3 separate regions of the Homo sapiens genome follow, and all the other regions are linked to region 2. The links are contacts of gene promoters, found by promoter capture Hi-C in human tissues and cell types (Jung and others, 2019). All regions are on one chromosome and are shown on one strand. Each heading gives the region's core, a stretch centred on a gene start or on the middle of the fragment in contact. The rest is flanking DNA. Distances are from core to core; before and after follow the strand shown.

Evidence for each region. Contacts are between HindIII fragments. The study calls those that stand out against the background at their distance.
Region 1: the fragment with the promoter of MTHFD1L here is called in contact with the fragment with the promoter of ULBP3 in region 2 in 1 of the 25 tissues and cell types used here (adrenal gland).
Region 3: a contact is called between a fragment that was not itself captured here and the fragment with the promoter of ULBP3 in region 2, in 1 of the 25 tissues and cell types used here (H1 embryonic stem cells).

What each region holds. Positions count from the first base shown.
Region 1 is chr6:150,863,838-150,868,588 of GRCh38, reverse strand. It overlaps MTHFD1L (methylenetetrahydrofolate dehydrogenase (NADP+ dependent) 1 like), which reads right to left and starts at 2,887. Exons shown (of 28, transcript NM_015440.5): 1 at 2,540-2,887. The coding sequence starts at 2,766. RefSeq lists silencers at 1,716-1,865, 1,986-2,185, 2,346-2,755, 2,816-3,045. The HindIII fragment of the contact is 14,014 bases long and covers 1-4,751 here.
Region 2 is chr6:150,066,246-150,070,871 of GRCh38, reverse strand. ULBP3 (UL16 binding protein 3) reads left to right here and starts at 1,751. Exons shown (of 5, transcript NM_024518.3): 1 at 1,751-1,893. The coding sequence starts at 1,806. LOC124901428 (a long non-coding RNA gene) reads left to right here and starts at 599. Exons shown (of 2, transcript XR_007059809.1): 1 at 599-1,114; 2 at 1,222-1,444. RefSeq lists enhancers at 1-729, 1,927-2,006, 2,027-2,076. The HindIII fragment of the contact is 17,553 bases long and covers 1-4,626 here.
Region 3 is chr6:150,776,587-150,781,045 of GRCh38, reverse strand. All of the region lies in intron 4 of PLEKHG1 (pleckstrin homology and RhoGEF domain containing G1), which reads right to left. Among named protein-coding and RNA genes, the nearest start is that of MTHFD1L, 87 kb to the left of the region's middle. The HindIII fragment of the contact is 6,386 bases long and covers 1-4,459 here.

The sequences.
Region 1 (4,751 bases), core at 1,638-4,137, 800 kb before region 2:
GAGGCAGGCAGATCACGAGGTCAGGAGTTTGAGACCAGCCTGGCCAACATGGTGAAACCCCGTCTCTACTAAAAACACAAAATAAGCCAGGCGTGGTAGTGCGAGCCTGTAATCCCAGCTACTCAGGAGGCTGAGGCAGGGGAATCGCTTGAACCCGGGAGGCGGAGGTTGCAGTGAGCCGAGATCCCGCCACTGCACTCCAACCTGTGCGACAGAGTGAGATTCCGTCTCAAAAAAAAAAAAAAAAAATTAATAGCCACCATTTGTTGAGGGACTTGTCTTGTATGTGACAGTCCTGGGCTATGTATTTTGCATGTGTCCTCTCACATAATTGTTTCCATAACCCCTTGAGGTAAGTACTGTTACTCCTCCCATTTTCCTGAAGGAATTGAGTTTGGAGAACCCAGTGCAGGCCCTAAAGCCCCCTACTAACCTCTTTACTCATCTCTAAGGCAGTCATGGCTTTAAACCTAAAAGTATGCATGAATAGCCCAGGCGCGGTGGGTCACGCCTGTAATCCCAACACTTTGGGAGGCCAAGGCAGTCGGATCACCTGAGGTCAGGAGTTCAAGACCAGCCTGGCCAACATGGTGAGACATCCTGTCTTTACTCAAAATACAAAAATTAGCCGGGCGTGGTGGCGTGCTCCTGTAATCCCAGCTACTCGGGAGGCTGAGGCAGGGGAATCGCCTGAACCTGGGAGGCAGAGGTTGCAGGGAGCCAAGATCGTGCCATTGCACTCCAGCCTGAGTGACAGAGCAAGACTCCGTCTCAAAAAAAAAAAAAAAAAAAAAGAATATGTATGAATAAAACCCACAGATGACCCCAAATCTTGAAGCATTCCTTCTGTAACCATTTCACAAGTGCTTATTACATGCTGGGCACTCTCTCCAGGACCTAGGATATAGCACCGAAGAGACGGCTGTCTCATGAAGCTCATATTCCAGGTGGGTGAGACAGACAAGAAATGAGCAAAGAAGGAAGTTTCAGGTAATAATCAGTTTACCTAGAAAATAAAACAGCATGACGGGAGAAGTTTTTTTGCCGCCTATCCTGGCTTCAGACTCTAACCGGTAAGATGAGTCTCAGCAACGTGCAGGTTAAAACCTAATGACCTGACGTGTAATTAATCCCAGCGCTTTTGGGGGCAGGGATGATGGCTTGCGCCCAGGAGTTCCAGACCAGCCTGGTAACAGAGTGGTGCTCTGTCTCTATGAAAATAAAATAAAATAATCCGGGCATGGTAGCGCACACCTGTGGTCCCAGTTACACTGGAGGCTAAGGCGGGAGAATCGCTTGAGCCCAGGAGGCGGAGGCTGCATTGAGCCGAGATGGCACCACTGAACTCCAGCCTGAGCAACAAAGCGAGACTCCATTTCTAAAAGAAAAAGAAGACAGAGAACAAGAAAAACTAAATAAATGGCCCCTTAAAATCATCCGCCACATAATAAAGAGCCTAGGAAACGTATTTTACTGAGATGGGAGAAGGGGAGTGGGGAGGAAAATGGGAGAGCAGAGGGAGGAAGGAAAGGCAGAGAGAAAGGCAAGCAGGCAATGACTAAGAAAGAAGGCTAGAAGGAAAGGGAAGAGGATGTGAATGGAGGAGGTGGTCCGCTGGCCGGGGAAACCGCATCCTGGAACTCGTTCCTAATCCCAGTTCCGAGGGAGGCGGAAGGGGCTTTCTTGCCACCCCCAAGTTGTCCCGAAGGGCTCGCCCTGCAAGGCCCGAGACCCGTGCGCCCCTCTGGGCGAGGGCGGGGAAGGCTGGAGCCCAGGGGCGGGGACCGGGACGGGAAAGGCCGGGCCCGGGGCTCCCAGTTCGCTCTGGGCCCGCAGAAAACCCTGCAAACCCAGCTGCGCGGGGACTCCGTGGGCGCTGCGCGGCGAAGCTGGAAACCAGCGCTGAGACCTCTCGGATTCCCCCCGGCGGCTGTCCCGGGGGCCCGGCTCCACCTTTGCCGTTCCGGGAAAAGCGGACGTCAGCCACAGACCCCAGCCCAGCAGGAGGGGCCGCGCGCGGGGAAGGGCGCACAACACCAGGGAGCTTCGCGCGGGCGGCGCTGGGCCCGAGCCCGCCTCTCCCGAGCTCCGCTTGCCCTTCCCGAACCCCGGGCCAGCCGGCGCGCCGAGCCGCAGCCCCGCCCTCCTCCTGCTCCTCGCCCCCTCCCCTGGTTTCCGCCCCAGCCGCACCGCCCCTTTACCGTCTGGGTCGCGCCCGGCGCGATTGCATCAGAGCCGGCGGCCGGCTGCGCACGTGGAGCCGGGCGTGCGGTCCATGCCGCTAGGCGCCCATTGGAGATGCCCACGCCCACCTGCGCTGCGGGCCCGGTCGGGTACTGGATCCCCCGTTCTCCGCCAGCGCTCCCGGCCGCAGTGCCCAAGCCCGCGTTTCCCGACACACCGCCCGGCCCCCCTAATGAGTTGGCACCAAACACTCGCAGCCCCGCGCCCCGCTCCCCACGGCGGTCCCGGGCGCTCCGCCCCTGGGTCGGGGCCACAGCCGCTGGAGACCTGGGCCAGGGCCAGACCCGACACTCACCTGACGATGGAGTCCCGCGCCGCGGGCGTTCGGCCGCCGGGGCTGCAGCTGCTCCGGGCCTGGCCATCCTGCGGCCGCCGCTGTCCAAGCAGGCCCTCCCGGCCACCGCCGCCGCCTCCGCCGCCGCCGCTGCTAGCGCGACAGGGCACACGGAGGCGGCGCGGAGGGCCCGGGGGCTGGGGCGGGCGGCGGAGCTGGCGCAGGACGAGCGGCAGACGCGTGCCCATGGCGCGGGACGGCTGGTTCTCAGGGGACACGGAGCTGCGGCTGCCGAGGGCGGCGGGGCGCGTGCCAGGGGAGCAGGCGGCGGCGGCGGCGGCGGCGGCGGGAAGGACCTGGCGCTTCCTCCTCGTCCCAGGGGCCCCTAGGGGGCACTGCACCCGGCGGCCGTGACGTGCGGAGGGCGGGGGCCTGCGAGCCGCCGGCCGGGATGTCACGGCTTTGGGCACTTTGGTTTGGTAAGCTGTACCAGACAGAGGGTGGGGTGCGGAGTGGGACTCAGACTCTGCCCTGAGACTCAGCCTCCCTCCCTTCAGCCTGAAAGGCCGAGGTGACCCTTGGTACTCAGGGCGCCAAGTTTAGACGGGAGGGCTTGGATTTGCTGTACTGGAGGTGGCCTGAGGATAAGAGGCTTTGTAACCTTAGGCAGGGGCACTTAATCTCGGTGAGCTTGCGGGGTCTTCGTCAGTACCACAGAGATAACAATGCTCTTCTTAAAACCTTAAAAGGATTTTATAGTCCTGATTGGTTCCAGGGCCCCTCCAGGGGACCCACGTCCACAAATGCTCAAGTCCTTGGTAAAAAAAAAAAAAAAAAAAAGTGTTTGCATATCACCTACACACATCTTCCCATCATAAACTTTAGGTCATCTCCACATTCCCTAAGTCCTCACCTAACATCGTGGAGGGGTTCTTGGAAACTGAAACTTTAAGCCAAATGACTGTAAGGAAAACAGTTTGACCACAGGCTAATTGATATGAGTGAAGTTCCTACAACATATCTGTGGTCACAAAATCGCCCCTAAACTTCGAAATAAAGACCAAAACACTTCTAATATTAAACATTGAAATAAGTGTGAGCCATGCATATATTTAAGGAAGATTTTTAGCTCACGCCTATAATCCCAACACTTTGGGAGGCTGAGGTGGGCAGATCACGTGAGGCCAGAAGTTCAAGACCAGCTTGGCCAACATGGCGAAACCCCATCTCTACTAAAAATACAGAAAATTGGCTGGGTGTGGTGGCGCGTGCCTGTATTCTCAGCTACTCGGGAGGCTGAGGCAGGAGAATCGCTTGAACCCAGGAGCCAGAGGTTGCAGTGAGCCGAGATCATGTCACTGTACTCTAGCCTGGGCGACAGAGCACAGCTCTGTCTCAAAGAAAAAGTTTTTTTTAAACACCCCCTATCCCTCTCGCTTAGAGAAAAATAAAGATTAATAAAAGTGAGATCATTTTTACCGGCTTATTCCAACTCAGGGCACCTCACAGGGTGTGCTCACACACACCCACACTCACACTCGGATCGTGTAGATGCACCAATTTACCTAAAGTGCACTGCACGGCTTTGGGATGTGACAGGACACCAGAAGACAGAGAAAATCCACACAGACATGGATAAAACGTGACAGTGGACCCAGCCAGAAATCTATTTTTTTCTCATCATTATAAGAAAACCACTGAGCAAAATGATGAAATGATGTTATTCCAGGACCTGCTGTACTTATAATACCTAATACAATGTAAATGCTATGTAAATAGATATTACACTGTACTTTTTTATTTCTATGATTTTTTATTATTTTTTGTTATTGTAATTTTTTCAAATACTTTCAGTCCCAGGTTGATTGAGGATACAGAGGGCTGACCATAAGTTCCAAGTAAAGTGGATATCAGATTGTAATTTTATGATTCCCAAGTGAGGGTCAGATTGTTAACTTTATATTTTTACAACCTTATACCCTTATAATTCCCAGATAAGGTGGGAATAAAACTAGTCCAAGTTACAGAGATTGGTTTTCCATTAGCCGAGCACCATACTGGGACAGTGCTGGAAGGACCCTTCATACAATCCTAACAAAAGTAGGGAATTGAGAGCTATTGTCTTGACCTTCAACCTTTGGAAACTGGGGTCCAGAGAGGCCCATCTGTTTACTGGCAGAGCTGGGAGATTGAGGCTGCAATGAGCTGTGAGCGTGTCACTGCACTCCAACCT
Region 2 (4,626 bases), core at 502-3,001:
GTCATTTTCCACATGCAGACATCCATTCCTAGAAAGCTGAAGAAGCTTGCACAGGAATATTCAGCCACAATATCAGCTGACTTCCATATCTGAATGCATGATCTCTAGATCCCGGCCATTACAATAACATTTGGGCCACTTCTATCCCCATCCTGGGCAGGCCTGAGTCTGTTGGCCAGATGCCTGCAGCAGGGGTGAGTCAGGAGGGCCCAGGTGTGCACAAAAGCCCCTCCTCCTGTCCTGCTTGGGGCTCTCCTGCCAGCCTCCTTCTACCTTCCTCCTGTTCCCCCAGTCACTGGCCCAGGTCACCTGGCCTCGGGGTGGTGCTGCCAGGGCCTTCCCAGAGGCCTCCTCCCAGGACTAACCTGGGCTCCTGCCCCCAGCCCTGTACATGGGAGGCTCTTCTCACACACAGATCCTGGGACCCGCCAAGCTCTGCCCCTCCCAAATCTGAGAACTGCCCACCCTTGTGTGTCTGTTGTCCTCCAAACTACCCTCCACATGGCCCCTCCTGCACAGGGGCTCTAGTGCATCAGGCCAGAATCTTCTAGGCTCCTGTGTCCCTGCTCAGTCACAGAGGTGGCTGCCCTCCCATGACTCTGTCCTGAAGCAGAAACAGGCCCTGGGCTTTGTCCAGGCCTCCTCCTCTTTCCCACAGCCTCAGGACCCTCGGGATTGATGATCACCAGGTGCAGGTGATCCCAACATGAAGACTGTACGGAGTGGGAGGTCTGTGCCGATTTTTCTCATTCAATAGGGAATGGGCTGAGTGGCTGGGGCCTGAGTGGCACTCAAGATCTCTGTCCACTCCTCATCCCAGGCTAAAGCCCTCCCTTGCGGCCAAGGGCCACTGGGCCCATCACCTCCCTCTGGCTTCTGCCCACAGATCTAGATGTTTCCATGGTGACTGAGACGAGGATACACTCGGGTTGCCGCTTTGAGGATGGCTGCAGTCACCATCCAGGGACAGGGCAGAGATGCGCGTGCAGCCATGGATTTGCGTGTAGCTGGCCACAGATGGGTGTACAGCAAAGTGAGCCCCACGCATGCGTAGACCCTCCCTCGGCTTCTGCTCTCCATGGAAACACAATTGATCATTTGATCACTGATCACGGTAGGCCACTAGGGCTTTCTTTTCTTTCTTTTTTTTCCCAGAAGTCATAAAGGGATATAGAATATACTTTATTCTATATATATTCTATATATTCCTCATGCTTTTAGTGGAGAGGCAAAGAAGGTCTGCTCCGGACTGGGAAGCAGCTGCGCCCTGGACGGAGAGGGGCGGGGACTCCTTGGCGCAGGCTGAAGGAGGGCAGGTGTCGCTGGCGGAGGCAGTGACGGGGGGACACAGCCGCCACTGGATATCCCTGTGCAAGTTTCTTCGCTTTCCTGTGCATCAGTGCTTACATTGGGGTAATAATAAATGGTGTGTTAAAAAATTAAATGAGGCGGTCAAGAAGGAATCGTGTCCTGGCCCGCGCGGAGCCTGGGGTGGAGGGTAAGGGTTGGCCAGAGGGGGCCGCTGTCAGGCCACGAGCCCGGGGCGGGACGAAGCGGAGCCACAGCAGGCATAGGCTCCCCGGGTCCCAGCCTGGGGTGGGGCGGGGAAGGGCGGGACGGGGCGGGATAGGGCGGAGCATCCCTCCAAACGTGGGCAGGCGTAGGCTCCCCTGGATCCCGGGGCGGGACGGGACCGGACGGGGCCGAGCACACTCAATCACTAGCTGGCATGCGAGGGCCGAAGTGATTCATACGCTGGTCTCCACATCGACTGCGCCTTGTGTCCCGGGCGCTCCTGGTCTACAATGGCAGCGGCCGCCAGCCCCGCGATCCTTCCGCGCCTCGCGATTCTTCCGTACCTGCTATTCGACTGGTCCGGGACGGGGCGGGCCGGTGAGTTCGGGGATGGAGCCTAAGCGGGGCGGGGGCCAAACCTGGGGGGCTGTGGACTGCAGCGGGTTTCAGAGGAGGGAAGCCTTCTAGAAGGACCGGCGCGATCTCCCCGGACTGCCCCCACGCTCAGTTCCGATTCGCTGCTCTTTTTCGCCAGGTCCGCTTCCTGCGGCTGCTGCTTGCCCTGCAGAGCAGGAGGGGGGTCAAAGAAGGCGAAAAAAGAACCGCAGGAGGGTGGAGGGGCCAAAAAGCTGCAGAGGGCGAGGTGGGGAGGGGATCCCTGGTGCAACCCCGCAGCCCCACTCGTCCTCGGGAAGGAGAAACCAGAGCCCCCGGAACCCGAGCTGGGGTCAAGACATGGGTGACGCCAGCGTCATATAGAATAGTCACTAAGCAGACAGGAGTCAGCAAACCCTTTCTAGAAAGGAAAGGCTGAAGGCACTTTGGTCCTTGCTGGCCGTGAGTTCTCTGTCTCTGTGTCAAGTCCCGTCCCTTTGTAGAGCAACAGCAGGCAATGGCAACCTGCAAGTAAAAGAGAAACCTGAAATGGACCCTGTCCTAGGTTGCAGACTCCAGATGAGGGCACATGCTGTGTCCTGGCAATTGCTGCCCCATCCCCTAGGGTGTCATCTCTAAGTTGTGTAAGTTGAAGAGTCACAAGTGTGTCCTACCCTGCCTGTGGCTTCTGGGAGGTGTGGATGTGATGAATGTGAGGGGGAGTCCCATGGTTCGGGGCCTACTGCTCCCCTCCTTTGTTGCTGAGTAGCATTAACGGTCCCCAGGGGCCATTCAGGGACCCTCCCTGAAGCCTCAGGTGTGACCTGAGGGTGGGGGGGTGTAGCCATGTGGTGTCCTGGGGATCAGAGCCAACTGCTTGTGCAGCTTCTTGGTTCCCTGTGGCCCTGCTCCTGCCCATCCCAGGAGACCCACCTGTGTCTTCTCACTGTGGGGCCTATCTTCCTAATGACCTAAAGGGTGAGGAGCACACCCTGTGATGGGCAGCTCTGAGGCTGTGTGGTCACTGCCCTCCCATAGCTGGAGGCCCATCTCCACAGGGGCCCAGGACCACAGCAGGAGCCACTTTTAAATGAGGGGATTTCACTGCTGTGAGTGGCACAGCTTTGCTTCTGAGCACTAGGGGACCCTGTTGGATTCTGTGGTTGGGAATAGCCATGAAATCCACATAGCACCTTTTCCAACCACACATGCTTCTGGGATCTTAGGGAGTCCAGGGTCAAATAGCTGTAGTGGCAGGTCCAGCCACACCCCTCATCACAGAGTGTGTATGGCTGCATCCCAGCTATAAGAGCAGAGTTGAGTAGTGACAGGGGAGGTCATATGACCAGCACAAACTATAATAGTTACTACATTAACTACAAACACTATCCATTCCCGGTAGAAATCCAGGAAATGTGAAATTACCATTGAATGGGTCTATGAACCCAGCACATCCCTCTAAGCTGGACCTGACACAGAAGTCCATCTGTTACTTTGCCCCAAATGCACCTCATGAGTAACAGGGGAGCAAGTTAATGCTTCACATCCCTGGGAAGAGCTCGGATCACACACTGTGTCCACTAGGAGTGTCTGAGTATTTGCTGTTTCATGGTGTACAGTTACCAGAGTGACTACCCATCTGGCTCTGTGGGGGAGGCTGAAGGAGTCATTGCAATTGCTGTGGGGTTGAAGGAGCCCACCAGGGGCTCTGGGCTCTCCTTCTAGTAATGGACTCTGCGTCTGAGATGTGGCTCAGTTCTCAAAGCTGGGCGAGGGAGCTCAGTTATTTCCCGGGGTGACAACTTTCAGCCTCCTGGTCATCCATCCTTGCATTTTGTCTTTGTGGTAATTATTTAAATCTAGTAGTATCCGGGTGGAGTCTCCATCTCTTTTGGATCTTGGACCCTTTTGTTCTATGAGCCATGGGCATAGCTTTGTAAGACTGAGGACCCCAGCTAGCATTGTGACTTCTCTAATTATTTCCATCATTGCACCCTCCTTCCTGCTGACAGTTGACGGCCTCCACTTGAGATCTCTTATTTCAGGATTTTCCATCCCCATTACTACTGGGAGCCCATTTCAGGAAGAGCATCTCCTACCCCTGACCCTGGGCTTCAGCAACAGGCATCCCTGAGCTTCTTGACAGTCTGCTGCCTTCTCCTGGGGCCTTCTTTATATGCTAGGTAAACAGGAGTCTTCCAGGCTTCCCTTGAGCACAGAGGGTGAACATTGTTCTGGATTTTCATACTGCAGTCACTCTGGCATGGGCACTTCTCTTAGTATTTTGTTCCTTCCTGTACAACCTGCCACGTAAGACCTGGGTTTTCTGTTTCATGCGGTGTGGGTCATTCCTTTTTCCAAGGTTCCAAGGGCAACCTACTAGCAGCTGACCACATTCCAGGGAACTTACCATGTCTTGTTACCCATAATAAATGAACTCATCCTTATCCAATGTTAACTACATCGTACCCACTGCACCACGCTCCAACATCCTCAGGGTGCCCTCCCACACTCTCCCGCCTCTTGCAGTCCACCTGGGCTGCTCCTGCAGATCCTGCCATCTAAGTCCTTCTTCCTGTAGTGGGCCTGCCACCTCCCTGGCAGGGTCCTGTGCTGACGGATGTGAGTATAGGCCTGGGCAGAGTGGGGAGATAGACATGTTAGCGACCCATGGTTCCTCCACAGGCAGAGACCACCGTCCAGGAAGAGAAATCCATGCTCTGCCAGCCCAGCCCT
Region 3 (4,459 bases), core at 1,476-3,975, 710 kb before region 2:
AAAAATTAGCTGGGCGTGGTGGCGCATGCTTGTAATCCTAGCTACTCAGGAGGCTGAGGCAGGAGAATTGCTTGAACCCGGGAGGAAGAGGTTGCAGTGAGCTGAGATAGTGCCACTGCACTCCAGCCTGGGTGACAGAGTGAGACTCTGTCTCAGAAAAAACAAACAAACAAACAAAAAACCCCCTGCTTTTGGAGTAATCTCTAAACAGAACATCAGAATCATCTATTTCAGAAAAATTGGATTCATCAAATGAATCTTCGGCCAACAAGCATTCAAGAACGACGTTAACATCATGCGTAGGAATGCTATGTTTTCTAAGATTTGACATTTTCAGCAATTGAGAATTACTATATTTTGTAAATGGAAATACCACTACTAAAAACAGAATGCTATAAAGAGAATGATGTCTTTTGTTTTTAAAGTCGATATACTAGAGTGATGTGAAAATAATAATAAAAGTGAGATATGTCATGGTAAAGTTATCTCGGGGTAAATGCTACACCTGTGAGAGCCACTGTCCAGTATTCTCACGGAAAAAAGGAAGAGTTTAAGGAGAGTCGAAATCACATCATTCTGACCTGAATACCAGATGAGGTAAGAGAAAAGGTCTGAGGAAATGAAAGCCAGAGGGCCAGGTGCAGTGGCTCACGCCTGTAATCCCAACACTTTGGGAGGCCGACGTGGGCAGATCATGAGGTCAGGAGTTCAAGACCAGCCTGGCCAATATGGTGAAACCCTGTCTCTACTAAAAATACAAAAATTAGCCAGGTGTGGTGCTACTCGGGAGGTCGAGGCGGAAGAATCACTTGAACCCATGAGGTGGAGGTTGCAGTGAGCTGAGATCATGCCACTGCACTCCAGCCTGGGCAACAGAGCAAGACTCTGTCTCAAAAAAAAAAAAAAAATTAAAGAAAAGGAAAATAATAGCCAGAGAGAAACATTTCTGGGCCAGTGTTTTCCATTAGTAGAGGATGGGGTGCTCTGGATGTATTGTGTCCTGGTCTTTCAGTATAGGCCCTCTCTCTGAGCAGAGAAGAACTGTGAGCGGACTCCATCATGTTATTTCTTTCTTTTTTTTTTGAGACGGAGTCTCGCTCTGTCACCCAGGCTGGTGTGCAGTAGTGTGATCTCGGCTCACTGCAACCTCCACCTTCTGGGTTCAAGCAATTCTCCCTCAGCCTCCTGAGTAGCTGGGACTACAGGCACGTGTCACCATGCCTGACTAATTTTTTGTATTTTTAGTAGAGACAGGGTTTCACTGTGTTAGCCAGGATGGTCTTGATCTCCTGATCTCATGATCTGCCAGCCTCGGCCTCCCAAAGTGCTGGGAATACGGGCGTGAGCCACCACGCCCGGCCTTGTTATTTCTCATAGCACAACAGAAACACTTCTTGGCAGGCCAGGCATGGTGGCTCATGCCTGTAATCTTAGCACTTTAGGAGGCCGAGGCGGGCGGATCACCTGAGGTCAGGAGTTTGAGACCAACCTGACTAACATGGTGAAACCCTGTCTCCACTAAAAATACATAAATTAGCTGAGTGTGGTGGCAGGTGCCTGTAAGCCCAGCTACTCGGGAGACTGAGGCAGGAGAATCACGTGAACCCAAGAGGCAGAAGTTGCAGAGAGCTGAGATCGCGCCATTGCACTCCAGCCTAGGCGACAGAACGAGACTCTGTCTCAAAAAAAAAAAAAAAAAAACTTCTTGACAATATTTAACCCCCTGTGTTTTAAATTGTATGTTCGGATTGCCTCCAAGCTTTAGTTTCATCTCACGAGTGGACTTCCTGGTAGGAGGAAGTGTCTCGGGGACCCAGCCAGGCTCCAGGTGTACCTCATCTGTGAATGAATGCCTGGCACTCAAGAACCACAGAGCTGGGAGGGCACTCAGATACCTTCAGTTCCGATCCCTAATTTTAAGGTGAGGAAACCATGGCTTATTAAAGGATGTAGCTTACCTTAGGTCACACTGCCAATAATGCATGGCCACAGTCATGGTTAGATTCAGGCCTTCTGAATCCCAGTCCTGCACTCTCTTAGAAACACATCTATTGAAAGATTTGTTTGCTGTTCCACTCAAAGCTGAGGGCCAGACTCCACACTGTCATATCTTCAACATGGTACTGCCTACTAGACAAGTCTTGTTTGAGTTACCTGGTCAGCTTTCCTTTACAACCTTTTTCTAGAACAGGATAAACACAATAAAAATGGTACTAGTAAAGAGAAAGTAATGGCATTTCTCTCATCCTCTTGTCACTGGGGCTATCATCCCCATGAAGCTGTTCCTATCCACTTTGTCTGCTTGCTATTCAATAAGCAATTGCTAAAAGACTGGATGTCAGGCAAGAAGGTTACAGGGGTAAAGAAGGTGGACAAAGGCCCTGTCCCATGTGTTTATGATCTGACCAGGGGTGAAAAGTACTAATAAGTGTGAATAAACAACATAATATCACATTGTATTATGTGATATGAAGGAAATAGAGGGTAGTACGATAGAGAGCAACTGAGGCTGGGCGAGGGTGAAAGAAGGTTGGGACAGTCAGGGAAGGTTCTCTGAGGAGGTGATATTTGAGTGCAGGAAGTCTTGGAAGAGAAAGTCATTTAAGAATGTGATTGCAGGCTGGGTACAGTGGCTCATGCCTATAATACCAACACTTTGGGAGGCTGAGGCGGGCGGATCACCTGAGGCCAGGAGTTTGAGACCAACCTGGCCAACATGGTGAAGCCCCCTCTCTACTAAAAATACAAAAATTAGCCAGGCGTGATGGTGAGCGCCTGTAATTCCAGCTACTTGGGAGGTTGAGGAGGGAGGATTGCTTAAACCTGGGAGGCGGAGGATACACTGAGCCTAGATTGCATTACTGTACTCCAGCCTGGACAACAGAGTGAGACTCCGTCTCAAAAAAAAGAATGGAATTGCAAACCAGGATAGAATGAGCTTGGTGGGTTCTCCTGTGAGGTATACAAAGGAAGCCACAGTGGCTGGAATTTGGTGGGCAACAGAGAGTGTGGTGGGATAGAGGAAGACATCTCGCTATAAAAGATATGCAAACACGCAAAGTACAATGGGAGCACAGTCGGGGCCTGGAATGCAGTGCATCAGCCACTGAAGACACTCCTAAATACCAGACACGGGATGATTCTACAGTTACAGCCTCGGGGGTGGAGACTACGGATTTCTCATTGAATCAGTGTAACTAACGTGCAACAGCACATGTGCACCAGGATTGCATCAGTGTGGCTGATGTGCAACCGCACATGTGCACCAGGATTGCATCAGTGTGAGTAGTGTGCAACCACACGTGCACCAGGATTGCATCAGTGTAATGTGCAACCGCACATGTGCACCAGGACTGCATCAGTGTGAGTAATGTGCAACTGCACATGTGCACCAGGATTGCATCAGTGTGAGTAATGTGCAACCACACATGTGCACCAGGATTGCATCAGTGTGGCTGATGTGCAACCGCACATGTACACCAGGATTGCATCAGTGTGAGTAATGTGCAACCGCACATGTGCACCAGGATTGCATCAGTGTGAGTAATGTGCAACTGCACATGTGCACCAGGATTGCATCAGTGTGGCTGATGTGCAACCGCACATGTGCACCAGGATTGCATCAGTGTGAGTAATGTGCAACCACACATGTGCACCAGGATTGCATCAGTGTAATGTGCAACCGCACATGTGCACCAGGACTGCATCAGTGTGAGTAATGTGCAACTGCACATGTGCACCAGGATTGCATCAGTGTGGCTGATGTGCAACCGCACATGTGCACCAGGATTGCATTAGTGTTGAGTAATGTGCAACCACACATGTGCACCAGGATTGCATCAGTGTGGCTGATGTGCAACCGCACATGTACGCCAGGATTGCATCAGTGTGAGTAATGTGCAACTGCACATGTGCACCAGGATTGCATCAGTGTGACTGATGTGCAACCGCACATGTGCACCAGGATTGCATCAGTGTAATGTGCAACTGCACATGTGCACCAGGACTGCATCAGTGTGAGTAATGTGCAACTGCACATGTGCACCAGGATTGCCTCAGTGTGGCTGATGTGCAGCCGCACATGTGCACCAGGATTGCATCAGTGTGGCTGATGTGAAACCGCACATGTGCACCAGGATTGCATCAGTGTGAGTAATGTGCAACCACACATGTGCACCAGGATTGCATCAGTGTGGCTGATGTGCAACCGCACATGTACGCCAGGATTGCAACAGTGTGAGTAATGTGCAACCGCACATGTGCACCAGGATTGCATCAGTGTGAGTAATGTGCAACTGCACATGTGCACCAGGATTGCATCAGTGTGGCTGATGTGCAACCGCACATGTACGCCAGGATTGCATCAGTGTGAGTAATGTGCAACCACACGTGCACCAGGATTGCATCAGTGTAATGTGCAACCGCACATGTGCACCAGGACTGCATCAGTGTGAGTAAT